5 separate regions of the Homo sapiens genome follow, and all the other regions are linked to region 1. The links are contacts of gene promoters, found by promoter capture Hi-C in blood cells and fetal thymus (Javierre and others, 2016). All regions are on one chromosome and are shown on one strand. The core of a region is centred on a gene start or on the middle of the fragment in contact, and the rest is flanking DNA. Distances in the headings are between cores, read along the strand shown.

The links. Contacts are between HindIII fragments. The CHiCAGO score rates a contact against its expected background, and 5 or more counts as called.
Region 2: a fragment that was not itself captured here is called in contact with the fragment with the promoter of KEL in region 1 in 1 of 17 cell types (neutrophils); the score reaches 5.8 in neutrophils.
Region 3: a contact is called between a fragment that was not itself captured here and the fragment with the promoter of KEL in region 1, in 1 of 17 cell types (neutrophils). The highest score is 5.4, in neutrophils.
Region 4: a contact is called between a fragment that was not itself captured here and the fragment with the promoter of KEL in region 1, in 1 of 17 cell types (M2 macrophages). The highest score is 5.6, in M2 macrophages.
Region 5: the fragment with the promoter of GSTK1 here is called in contact with the fragment with the promoter of KEL in region 1 in 3 of 17 cell types (neutrophils, erythroblasts and M0 macrophages); the score reaches 11.7 in neutrophils.

Annotation. Positions count from the first base shown.
Region 1 is chr7:142,961,095-142,963,621 of GRCh38, reverse strand. It overlaps KEL (Kell metallo-endopeptidase (Kell blood group)), which reads left to right and starts at 1,259. Exons shown (of 19, transcript NM_000420.3): 1 at 1,259-1,418; 2 at 1,750-1,827; 3 at 2,121-2,262; 4 at 2,518-2,527. The coding sequence starts at 1,416. RefSeq lists a silencer at 1,300-1,495. The HindIII fragment of the contact is 12,002 bases long and covers 1-2,527 here.
Region 2 is chr7:143,343,955-143,346,481 of GRCh38, reverse strand. It overlaps CLCN1 (chloride voltage-gated channel 1), which reads right to left. Exons shown (of 23, transcript NM_000083.3): 17 at 720-961; 18 at 231-342. Among named protein-coding and RNA genes, the nearest start is that of FAM131B-AS1, 16 kb to the left of the region's middle. RefSeq lists silencers at 886-965, 772-1,066. The HindIII fragment of the contact is 4,049 bases long and covers 1-2,527 here.
Region 3 is chr7:143,324,524-143,327,050 of GRCh38, reverse strand. The region is part of intron 7 of CLCN1 (chloride voltage-gated channel 1); the gene reads right to left. Among named protein-coding and RNA genes, the nearest start is that of CLCN1, 9.7 kb to the right of the region's middle. The HindIII fragment of the contact is 1,624 bases long and covers 454-2,077 here.
Region 4 is chr7:142,642,903-142,645,429 of GRCh38, reverse strand. It overlaps TRB. Among named protein-coding and RNA genes, the nearest start is that of PRSS1, 110 kb to the left of the region's middle. The HindIII fragment of the contact is 2,756 bases long and covers 1-2,527 here.
Region 5 is chr7:143,262,183-143,264,709 of GRCh38, reverse strand. It overlaps GSTK1 (glutathione S-transferase kappa 1), which reads right to left and starts at 1,269. Exons shown (of 8, transcript NM_015917.3): 1 at 1,125-1,269; 2 at 543-624; 3 at 34-162. The coding sequence starts at 1,196. All of the region lies in intron 2 of TMEM139-AS1 (TMEM139 antisense RNA 1), which reads left to right. LOC105375546 (a long non-coding RNA gene) reads right to left here. Exons shown (of 3, transcript XR_007060569.1): 3 at 1,503-1,562. RefSeq lists enhancers at 1,022-1,241, 1,060-1,354 and a silencer at 1,382-1,451. The HindIII fragment of the contact is 19,965 bases long and covers 1-2,527 here.

The sequences.
Region 1 (2,527 bases), core at 10-2,509:
TTACATTATTTTTTTCCTGGGATGAGGAAACAAGGACAGAGTTGAAACACCTTCCCCCAGAAATGTGCTTGCCTCTCTCAGACCACAGGTAAGGGCTTAATATGATGTGAGAAAGAGGATTTCTGGCTTGGAATGCAATTCATTTCTATTAACATTTAGAAAGCATCTTGGGTGGGCAGGAATGAAAACCAGACACTGTACATGCTATGACATAGTTTTCAATCACTAAGGAGATGAAGAGGCAAGCTATCAGTGTAACAGAAAGCAGAATGAAAGAAAGAGGGGCTCAGTAAAGCCTTATTCTTTTGTAGAAGGCATGAGATCCTATGAGGTAGGCATAGGCAAGTATTACCCTCATTTTCCAGATGACAAAACTTGCTTACCTGCCTCAGAGTTTAAGTGGCTTGTTTATTGTCACAGAGCTAATAATTAGCAGATTAGGGTCTCCTAGCTGGGTGATCTTTTGAATGCATGACTTTGCCAGCAGCCAGCAGAGCTATGAAACACCGAGAGAAACAATTAAGCATGCTTGGGAACAGTGTGAATGGGCATGGAGCTGGGAGGCCTCCTGGGAAAGGTGGCATTTGACCTGGGAATTGATGAATCCCAGAAAAGCCAATCAGAGAGGTGTGAAAACAAAATTAAAATGGAGACTGGGCCTGAAAAATTCCCAGGCAAACAAAGCCAAAGACCTTAAAAATAGCCATATTCTTGCTAAAACTACAAACATAAATTAAACTTAACTTGGGTCAATTTCTGATAAATGCTTACAACAAATAAAACTTAACCCCAGCCAATGATAAGCAGCCAACTAACATATGATTATGTGACTAGGGACTTTCCAAAAAGTTACCTAAAAAATGCAATTATGTAACTGCAAACTAAGCAAATAATGTTTCATTTTGCTTCTATAACTTCCCAATAAATGCTTGCCTCTGACATTTTGTCATCGCAACACTAAACCTTTGTCGGTCTGGTGCTCCCCAATTCATGAATTGCTTCTTACTTAAATAAACTCTTTAAAATTTTACTGTGCCTCATATTTTTTTTAATACAGAAGAAATGAGAGAAGGAAGAATATTTTAGAAATAAAGGAACTTCATGGGCAGAGTCACAGTGCAAGACAAAAGGAGCAGACCAAGGGCAAGATTGCTTGGGGAGTGAAGACTCCCTCCCTCTTCTCCCCTGAGAAGCTGAGATAAAGGGGGAGGAGAAGCCTGGGTGCCCCCCACTGATAAGCAGGCTCCACCCAGAGGCCAGTCCTGTGTGTCTGGGGACAAGGCGAAAGAGCAGCAGAAGTGCCCCTTCTCCAGGATCAAGGAACTGGGGCGGGGGGTGTTTCCTGGACCCCAGTCCTCCGAATCAGCTCCTAGAGTGGAACCAGGAAGGATTCTGGAGCCACAGAAGATAGACAGATGGTAAGTCCCCTTTTGGAGTCAGAGGCTTAGCGGGGAGGGGTGAGGGTGGCTGTGTGCAAAAGTCCTGCCCCCACTGGAGGGGAGGGAATGTAAGGCTTACAGAGTAGAAAGGTGGGGAGAGAGGGAGGTAATGGGAGAGGGATCGAGAAATGGCACATTCAGGGGACAGGTTCGTTCTGAAGCCCATCTGGGAACACTGCTCCGAGATAAAAATATGTGTGTGGGGGCAGGGCAGGCAGCGAGGGTATCAAAATGGCCTGATAAAACTCTCTTCAATGCACCATTTCCTGAACCAGCTTCTCTCTCCTCCTTCTCCCTCCACTCACTTCAGGAAGGTGGGGACCAAAGTGAGGAAGAGCCGAGGGAACGCAGCCAGGCAGGTGGAATGGGAACTCTCTGGAGCCAAGAGGTAAGTGGCCTCCTCTCCTGGGTCTGGAATACACTGATGTTGTCACTCTCGGCTCTAAAATCCCACAAACACTCATCTACTAACTGTCTGCTTCATCCTCACCCAAAACAGTTGACATTCCTTGTTTTCTCATCTCCCAGGAGTTAAAGTAGGGCTGGGTTTAGGAAGAATTGGGATAATTATTTCTGTATAAAGGGACTGTAGCACCAACAGATTCATTCTCTCTCCTCTTCTTCCCATCCCTGTCTCTCAACCCCCATCTTGTATCTTTCACCTCTTGGTTCCTCCCACAGAGCACTCCAGAAGAGAGGCTGCCCGTGGAAGGGAGCAGGCCATGGGCAGTGGCCAGGCGGGTGCTGACAGCTATCCTGATTTTGGGCCTGCTCCTTTGTTTTTCTGTGCTTTTGTTCTACAACTTCCAGAACTGTGGCCCTCGTAAGCAAGATCCCAGACCCCCTAACCTAGTCAGCCCTCCCCCAGCCCTGGGGCCCAGGCCCAGTCCCTGCTCCTGGGGCTTCTGCCCACCCTGACCCTTGGGGTCCCCATGGTTCTTCTTCCTCCCTGCATCCTAACCATTTCTTTTTCATCAGCTCCCCACTTAGTTACTCACCTGATGTTCTTTGCCTAGCCCCTTGGGGGAGCCCTTGTCTTTTTGCCTCTTCTTTCCCAGCTCTGAGCTTTTCCCCACAGGCCCCTGTGA
Region 2 (2,527 bases), core at 1-2,500, 380 kb before region 1:
CTTCCCAGGTACCTCACCCTCTCTTCTACCCTCCTAAATCACCCTCTGCTCCCACTCCCTGGGACAGTAACAAGGAGAATTGATGAATAAGAACCCTGTCCTCCCTCAATCCCCCAGCCTCACCCCCCACCCCACCCCGCATAGGAATTGCATGCAGGTCAAGGTCAGGTCCTAGTGACCAGAGAGAACCCACAAGGGGTGAGTTGGGGTGCATGAGGGAAGAGCGTCACCTGCAGGCTCTGGTGCTTCCGGCTGCTGTTTGTGGCCAGGCAGAGGCCCATTGGGCTCTTCTGGGGACAGAGGGGCAGTAGTAGAGGGGTGGAGAGCAAGGGAAGGAGGAAGCTGTAAGGAAGAGTAAGAAGTCTCAGCCTGGGAGCAGAGACTGCCTGGGCCTTCACTGCCTTTACCAGTTGGTGGATGTTCTGGGAAAGCGAACTCTATTCTTCCCCCCAGTTCAGAAATTCCTATATCCCTTTGAATTGTCGAGGATACCATCATCTGCAACCTTATCTTCTTTAGTCCCTGGACCCAGAGGCACTGGTCTCTATGGTACCTGATCCAGAATTTCTGGCTTTCTCAGTTACCAGACTCTCCCCTCCCTCTTCCCACTACTTTCAGGGAAACTACGCCTGTCCCAGCCCAGCCCAGCCCAGCCCAGACGACGCTTTTCCCTTTGCTCCTGATCTATCCCACTCCCTAGCCCTTCCCGGCGCGGTCACCTCGCTCTTGCCAGAGAGGTCTTCGTCCTCATCCTCATCCACAAAGGCGAAGGACTCGGGCCGGCCTGGAGGCGCGCCGGGGAGCCCCTCCCCAGCCAGCCGCGCCTTCCCGTCGTAAGGCAGCTCCGACAACTTCCGCGCCATCTCTTGGGCTGCGCGCAGCCTGCGCTCAGGACACAGGTGGCGCTGCAGGAGGGCCTGCAGTTCCGACCGCTCCACCGAGCCCAGCAGGATCATTGAATCTGAGGGAAACCCACGCCCTGCCTGAGCGCCCCCTCCAAGCCCTCTCGCACCACCGCGCTCCGCACTCCTGAGAAGGAACAGGAGAGGCGCCACCCTGCCCGGCGTCCCCACATCTTTCTCAGCTTCCTGGAAACTCATTTTAAGAATCCTCCAAGATTAACCTCACTCAATCCCTTTTATTTCATCCATTTAGCAGGTACGGGGCCAATTGGTAGAGCACTAATTGGGCTAATTTGTACTTATTTTGATGAGGCCTTATATAGACTTCAGATAGGTGAGCTGATAATTAAGGAGGCTAATCAATGCTGTCCAAATAAAAAGAAACATGAGAAGCCATTCAAATAAGCTGAGACGTGAACACGCTTTGAAAGAAGTCTATAAGCAATACAAACATTATATCTCTCCCTGGAAAAAGGGAAACAAGGGAACTCTTTCTTTTGTATCTGACATTTCATCATTTAAAAAACCTGGGCCAGGCGGTGGCTCACGCCTGTAATCCCACTACTTTGGAAGGCCGAGGCAGGCGGGTCGCCTGAGGTCAGGAGTTCGAGACCAGCCTTGGCCAACATGGTGAAACCCCGTCTCTACCAAAAATAAAAAAATTAGCTGGGCGTGGTGGCAGGCGCCTGTAATCCCAGCTACTTGGGAGGCTGAGGCAGGAGAATCGCTTGAACCCGGGAGGCAGAGGTTGCAGTGAGCTGAGATCGCACCACTGCACTCCAACCTGGGCGACAAGAGCGAGATTTCATTAAAAAAAAAAAAAAAAAACCCTGCTAGGATAAATCAAAATGCCTACTTTTCCTGAGAAGGTCTTTTATATGATTATAGAAATTTTGCTACTATAGTTAACATTTTTATTAAGTTTTAAGGCCAAGACATTGCAGCAGTGCTCTGGAGATGAATTTTACTGTTAGGTCTCAGTCATTATTATGAAAACCTTGCCCCTCATTTGTTGGCTGTACCCCTCCTCTAATAAAGAGCCTCTGCTGTAGAACGTGGAATGTATATGAGATTTGGGAAAATATTTGAATTAATTTAATTTGAGAAATTTGGATATTCTGATTATTGGAAATCAGAACTAACAATCTTAATGACTCCAAATGGCCCTACATGATTTTTCTTTATTACACTAATTCAAACACTAGGAAATTATTCATTTAATATCTAGTAGATACCTATAACAAGGCACTCTGGGTATATAGAATTCATAGCCTCTATTCTCAAGGAATGCCCACCTAGTTAGGAAGACAAGATATAGATATATAAACCACAATAAGAAATCATACAAAGCAGGATGAAGTGTCAAATGATGGTGAAGGCAGAGAAATGTGAAATTATCGTTTACTAACAACCATTCACTCCTCCATGTGAAACAGTTCCAGCCGGGCACAGTGGCTCATGCCTGTAATCCCAGCACTTTGGGAGGCCAAGGCTGGTGGATCGCCTGAGGTCAGGAGTTCGAGACCAGCCTGGCCAACATGGTGAAACCCCGTCTCTACTAAAAATACAAAATTAGCTGGGCATGGTGGTGCATTCCTGTAATCCCAGCTACTCAGGAGCCTAAG
Region 3 (2,527 bases), core at 16-2,515, 360 kb before region 1:
TGTTCTTGAACTCCTGACCTCATGATCCGCCTGCCTTGGCCTCCCAAAGTGCTGGGATTATGGGCATGAGCCACTGTGCCTGGCCACTGATAACTTTTTTAGTTTAAAAAAAACTCTCTTTAACCAAGCATTTTCCAACTGGTTTATAGAACCATTTTTACACATTAGATCTAGTAAACCATGAAACACATTCGTGCAAATCCTAGTCTAGAGAATAAATTCCATATTCTTATACATAGCCATGAGAGTCTTCATAATTCAGCCCCCCTTTACTTGTCCAGCCTCATTTGCTATTATTCCTTCCTCTGTATCCCCTGGTAATACTCAGCTACTGCCCCCATCTTGACTTTGCAATGCTGTTTCCTCTGTCCAGAATACCTTGCCCACCATCCTCCTTGCCAGTCCTACTTATTATTCAAGCCTCATGTCAAACACCACCTCTTTTGTGAAGCTTCATGGGCTCTTGTAGGCAGGTTAGCATAAGGTCCCCACTGCACTTTACCCCAGCTGCCATTGGGCCACTTTTTCGAGTGAGCTATGACAATAGGTTTGCCTGCCTGTCCAGCCTCTCAACTAGGAGCACCCTGAGTGTGCAAGATCCAACACAGGGCCTGGTACAGAATGGGAGCAAGATGCTTGTCATTTCAGTAGAATGCTGAATTCCATTTATTTCATTAGTGTAAGAAATTAAGAGCTGACTCCATAATGAATACCTCATTTTGATACTAATTTTCCTTTCAGAATTATTCGGTATTCTTTTTTAAAAATCAAGTAATAGGCCAAGGTGGGCGGATCACTTGAGGTCAGGAGGTTGAGAGCAGCCTGGCCAACATGGTTAAACCCTGTCTCTACTAAAAATACAAAAAATTAGCCAGGCGTGATGGCGCAGGCCTGTAATCCCAGCTACTTGGGAGACTGAGGCATGAGAATTGCTTGAACCCAGGAGACAGAGGTTGCAGTGAGCCAAGATGGTGCCACTGCACTCCAGCCTGGGTGACAGAGCAAGACTCCATCTAAACAAACAAACAAACAAACAAACAAAAAAAACAAGTAATGCCACCTGCAAATACCTTTGTCATTTACCACATAATACAAACAGCGTAAACATGGCACCTTAATTTTTAAGTACTTAACAATTTCTTGTGTCAACAGCAATGTTTTATCTGTGAATTTTTTCTTCCTTTTTCTACCACAGTGGTTTCAGAACTGTTGCCTGTAACTTCTCTGTGATCTTTACCTCTCCCATACTTGACACAGGACCAAGAAGAACTTTTCTGATTCTTCTCAGAAATTCCAATTTTACGAGGAAAATGCAAATTCTCTTCATGTTAAGAGAATCTGGCTGATTAAAACAAAACAACAGAAGTCTCCCAGTCTAAAAATATTATTTAAACCTCCTGGATTTGAAAGGCTAACGAGTAAATAAAGGCAAAAGTGGGTATAAATGTAAGTGTGAACGTTTAACATGTGCAAAAATCCAAATACACTATCCTCCACTGACAAGGATTAGTGATTTTAATGAGTAGAGCTGAGGACAGAAATGTAAACAGGATGCTAGCTGATGTGCTTGCTAACTTGGGTTCCTTAGTCTGTGTGCTTTGCCACAGTGTTTGCATAAGTTAGATCATGCATTTGCATTAACTTTAAACTCTTCTCCACTTATCATTCCTGCACCAAGTCATTTTAGTTCCCTGGAAGATTCTATGAAAAGATTGCTTAACATTTCCATAACTGAAAAGAAACCTCTAACAGTGGGTCATTTAAGAAGCATATGCCCTTCCTGCAATTTTGTTTCTTCACATATCAACTTGGTGTCCTTTTTATCATCAATGAATCCAGTGAATGATCTATATAATCCTGCCCTGCTAATCTAGCTATAATTGATTTTGATGAGTCAATAAACAGATACGACTGCTTTCTCCGACTACATCCATTTGTTAATCATCCATGATAAGGAAAATAATCTGAGAGATCGCTATTTGCCTTATACTTGGAGAAAGAGCTAAACTTAACTTTAAATTGCTATCAAGGGACATTTATCCTTTGAAACTCTCCTAACTATTCCACACTAAAAGCTTACCATTAATCTAAATAAGGTCTACCTGAATTCCCATGCAATTAATAAAGCACAACAAAATGTGGATTTTTCCCTTGAAGGAGGAAGTTCATAGAGTCCCCTGTTAGAGATGTCATCGGTGTAGGGCAAAAACATCCAACAATACAAACAGGTTTGAAAATAAGTAGGGGAGCCACGGAGACTGCCTTGGTTTTAATTCCTGGCTTGTACCTTACTAACAGAATGAACTTGCTCAAGTCACTGTCCCTCTCTGTAACTCAGTTCTCTCCTCTTCCTCCTCTGTAATATCTGTCTCATATGGCTTTGGCCAGGAATAAAAGTAAGTGCTTTAAACATTGCCTGGCACATAGCAAAGGCTTACTAAAAGTCAGCTATTCTCGTAAGTAACCTGGTAATACCAGCACTTGTGGATACTGATTAAAACTGTTTTGGGAGCCAGGCCAGGCAAGC
Region 4 (2,527 bases), core at 20-2,519, 320 kb after region 1:
TTTGAGCATCAGTTTCTAACTCAAGACTGGACATTCCTTCTGGCTATTAGTTATCTAATTATCTTTTATATATTTCAGATCTCTGTTGTAATTGCTATCTTTATGATTCTGAAACTAGTGACTGCTTTGAAAAATACTTCACCTTCTAGCTCTTTCTGGTGTATTTTAGCTTGTTCATTTACTAGTGCTTCTTTTACATAACCTCCCTTTTTTGCTTTTTCTCTCTGTAACTATTTATTTTAAATTGTGCATTTTTTGATGATTTTTTTTTTCGCTTACTTTTCTCTTCCTCCATCTCATCCTCATTTCAGGTAAGTAATGTTAACAGCTTAATGTATATCTTTCCATAGATTTCTCCTTACTAATTTAATTGTTCAGTGAGGTTGTTTTCTCCACATTACAAAATGGACTTTGAATATATAGATAATAACTTGATAAAATACCAACAGAATGATCACTTAAAAAAACAACTTGGCACAGGAAATAAAAGATTACCAGAATATTTGAAAGCTCTTATTTCTTTTCCCAGATTCCATGCCTCTGTTCTCTAACTCTATTGAGGTGTTTGTTTTTGTAATTATTTGCTTCTCTTTTATATTTTAATGCATAGGCACATAAGCAAACAAAATAGTGTTTAGTTTTAGATGCTTTCAAACTTTACACAAACGAGACAATACTGTACCTTTCTTCTGCAATGTAATTTTTCATTCAAATTTGTGAAATTCATTCATGTTTGTGTGTTTAGTTTTAGTTCATGAATTTTCACTGCTGTGTAATTTCTTTTTAATAACCAGGATTTATTCTTCTCTTAAGTTACATTTGGATATTTTATACGTTTTTGCCATGACAGATGTATTACAGTGAATATTCTTGTCCTGATTTTCGTAGAAGGGTTTCTCTAGAAAAGCCTTTCTCAAGGGTGGAATTGATGGATAGTGGGTACACACATCTTGAACTTTACTAGATAATACCAAATTGTTTTCCAAACTGGATCTACCGATATACACTCTAGCCAGTGATTCAGAGAGTTCTTGTTGACACTTTGCCTTGCCAACACTTGATAGTTACTATTTTTATCATCGTAGCCATTCTTGTGGGTATATATTTCGTTGGACTCAATTTCTATTTCCCTGATTATTAAATATAGCCACATTTACATGTTTAATGACCAGTGAGATTTTGCTAGGTGCTTATGGTTTTCACTCACTTTTTCCATTGACAGTTACCTTTTTCTCATTGATCTGTAGAAAAATTAGTTTGTAGGTTTTTAAAAAATTTATATACTAGCTTTTCTTGAATATATAAATATAAATAGGGATATTAATTTGGTATAAATATATAGATATTTAATGATATGTCACTATACAGTCAATCTTGTCACTGTTACATAATTAACATTGATAAATTCAATATGTTAATTTTGATATAGCCATTTTTATCAATCTGTTCCCTACTGATTGAGGGAATAAGAACTCTTTCCCTGCTTTAAGGCCATGAAGATGTGCTCTTATACAGTATTCTAGAAGCCTTGTGATTTTATTACAATTATGCTTTTAATATAGCTGGGATTGATTTTGGCTATATATTGAGATGTGTCCAATTGCACTTATTTTTCTTTATATAGATACCCAATTTTCCTATCACCATTTATTGAAAAATATATTCTTTGATTGTTGCAGTACCATTGCTCTGTGTTTATGAACATGTATTTTTTTCCTTGGATCTATTTATATATCAATGCCCTTATATTACACCACTTTTATTGTTGTGGTTTTATAATAATTCTTCATGTTTGTTAGATTTAGTCCTCTCACTTGGAGCTTCTATTTCAGTGCCTCAGCTATTCTTTTATCCTTTGCAGCTATTCTTTTATCCTATCCTATCCTTTATCCACTGGTAGGAGACTCATGCAACTTCATTCATGGAGGCTTTTCATTTCCTACTTTGGTGATTTCTTGGAATCTTAGCTAAGTCTTGTGTCTTTCCAAAAGGAACCTCAGTGGAAAAGGTTCTGTGCACCTCAGTAAACTAACATATGACATTTTACCAACTATTCCCTGTTACCCAAGAAGTGTTTGCGGCTTCTTCTGCCTGGGTTACCTTTATTTTTTTCCCGAATTTTCTTAGAAATATCAAATACTAGACAAAACAAAACTCTCACTCTCTCTCTTTCCCTCTTTTGTTTTTACATCCCATGTTCTAATCACTCCTCACTCTTAGGCTTCTTTAATCTCCATAAGGAACCAGAATACCACAGTCTTAACTTCCATGCCTTTTATCTCTGTGATCTAAATCTATATTTGGTTGGAATTTTCTGTCCCCATAGTTCAATTATTTACATGCTGAAATCTGCAGAGTCTCAACCTCTAGTCCAGCCTTATGGCATCTCAATTTCACATCTTGTCTATGCAGTTGCCTGCTTCTAGTTTTTATCTCATTGTTCCATAGACAGTTGAACCCTATTATCCCAAATGGGAACTGCTACTGCTAACATGATTTCATATTGTTTGAAACTGTGCCCTTTGTT
Region 5 (2,527 bases), core at 20-2,519, 300 kb before region 1:
CTGGATACCCTGTCTACATCCCACTCTCTTCACCTTTTTCAAGCATCACAGACAAGAAATCCTTGGGGAAGTGGATGGGAATCTGGAGATGGTGTCTCAGGAGCTTTAAGTCATTTGCCATGTATAGTCCTTTGCGGGGAAGCAGACCTGGAGGCTTGTTTCCTGCCAGGAGAAGGTTGGGCACGCTAAGTGAGAAAAGACCTAAGGGTCCCAGGTTTGGGGACCTCGACGTGGGTTTTGGGCAGAGGGCAGCTTCCTTTTTTTTCTCTTGTTGTTTCGCTCTTGTTGCCCAGGCTGGAGTGCAATGGTGCGATCTCAGCTCACCGCAACCTCCGCCTCCTGGGTTCAAGCGATTCTCCCGCCTCAGCCTCCCGAGTAGCTGTGGTATACAGGCATGCACTACCACGCCCGGCTAATTTTGTATTTTTAGTAGAGACGGGGCAGAGGGCAGCTTTCTGGCTGCCAGTGCCAATATAAGGACCCGCTGGGGTCGGCTCTCTTGGGCCACTGAGATCACCCCTGCCCCGACCCTCCCTTCCTACCACTGTCTTTCATGATCCCTGTTATGAGGCTGGGCCGCAACTGCAGGTTGATGTTCCAGATATTCTGATACCGGCACAGGATCTGCGGGCAGAGGTCAAGAACGATTGCCAGTGTGCAAGATGGAAAAGTGAAAGAGCCGAGGGAAAGGGAAGGGAGGCGCTAAGTGCAGAGCAGGGGTTATGCGGACACCCTACATTGTTTGGTTTGAAATTGGCAAAACTCTCCTCACTACTAGAAATCTATTCCAGGATCTTCGCTCCTGTGGCCAGTTTTCCCCAAAACTGCCATCGTTGGGCTAAGAGGTGGCCGTGTTCTGCATTTCTCCCTGAATGTTTGGAGCCGCCCCTCTTTCCACCACCGTGGGAAACTGCAGTCGGGATATAAAGGCTCGGGTTGGAGCCAGCGACTCTATTCCGTTTAAAAGCACAAAGTGACCTTCAGCCCCGGAGCTCTCCCTGCTTGCCTTAACCCCTTGGGCGGCGCCAGGAGTTACACGAGACCTCTGTCCCGGAGCCCTGCGCTCACTCTTCCCTCCGCCCTCACTCCCCAGACACTGCCGAGGCGACCCCTCCCAGCGTCACCTCGAAGCCCAGCCAGGAGTAGGGGGACAGCACGTCATAGAAGAGCTCCACGGTGCGCGGCAGGGGCCCCATGCTGCAGGCTCCGGAAGAGCAGTGGCAGCAGGAGCTCCTTTTCCCGGAACCCGGCAGAGGCTGCCCAGCTTCTGGGCCTGCCTGGGACCGCCCACCGCCTTAGCGCGCAGCCTCAGAGAGAAACTGCCCTGGTAGAGGTCCACCTCCGGCGCAGCGGGGCAGGGCCAGCCTACGGCCCCCAGCCAGGGGCGGGGTGGGTAGGGACCCCTTGGGGAGCGCGCAGGTGTGGACAAGGGGCGCTGCAATCGCCTTTGCAAAAATTTTAACAGTGAGAAAATTACGAAGGTGAAACAGATCTGAACTCACCAACTCCATCGTGCCTTTAACCTCCAAACTGCCCTTGGTCATTCCTGAGCATGGGACGAGCTAATATAGGGAGAAATTTAGTTTATAGTTTAAATGATAATAGCCCTTCCCCAAACTAAACCAGTTTTATAAAACTAATAAAAGTCCACAAGTTTAGGATTATGAGAGGGGCCTGAATTCTGCTAAGATGTAGGCATTAACAATTACCAGACATTGTTCCAGAGGTCACAAGCTCTGCAACTTCCCCAATTATTCCTGTAAATAACCACTTTTGTAGAACCTAAGACTGGCCTTTGAAGATACCTTCTCAGACTTTTCCATTTCTAATGACAGGATGACTCCACCTGGACCAGTGACTCCTCTGTGGCCCGCATCCAAATGCAACTCGGTGCACTGAGGACGGTTTTCCACACCCCTGTGATTGCATCCCCAACCAATTAGCAGCACCCATTCTCTAGCCCCTTGCCCATCAAACTATCATTAAAAAACTCTAGCCGGCGGGCATGGTGGCTCACGCCTGTAATCCCAGCACTTTGGGAGGCTGAGGTGGGTGGATCACTTGAGGTCAGGAGTTCAAGACCACTCTGGCCCACATGGTGAAACCCTGTCTCTACTAAAAATGCAAAAATTAGCCGGGCATGGTGGCATGTGCCTGTAATCCCAGTTACTCGGGGGGCTGAGTCAGGAGAATTGCTTGAATCCGGGAGGCAGAGGTTGCAGTGAGCCGAGATCATGCCACTGCACTCCAGCCTGGGTGACATAGCAAGACTCCCTCTCAAAAGAAAAACAAAAACAAAAACAAAAAAACCCACAAAGTCCCCTAGCCTCTGCCTCCGAATTTTGGGAGGCTAATTTGAGTAATAATAAAACTCTGGTCTCCTGTTTAGCTGGCTCTATGTGTATTAAACTCTTTCTCTATTGCAATTCCCTTGTCTTGATAAATTAGCCCCATCTGGGTAATGGGCAAGATGAACCCATTGGGCTGGTGTCAGGGTGACTGTCCTGCTCTGCAGTGGAGTCTTGTG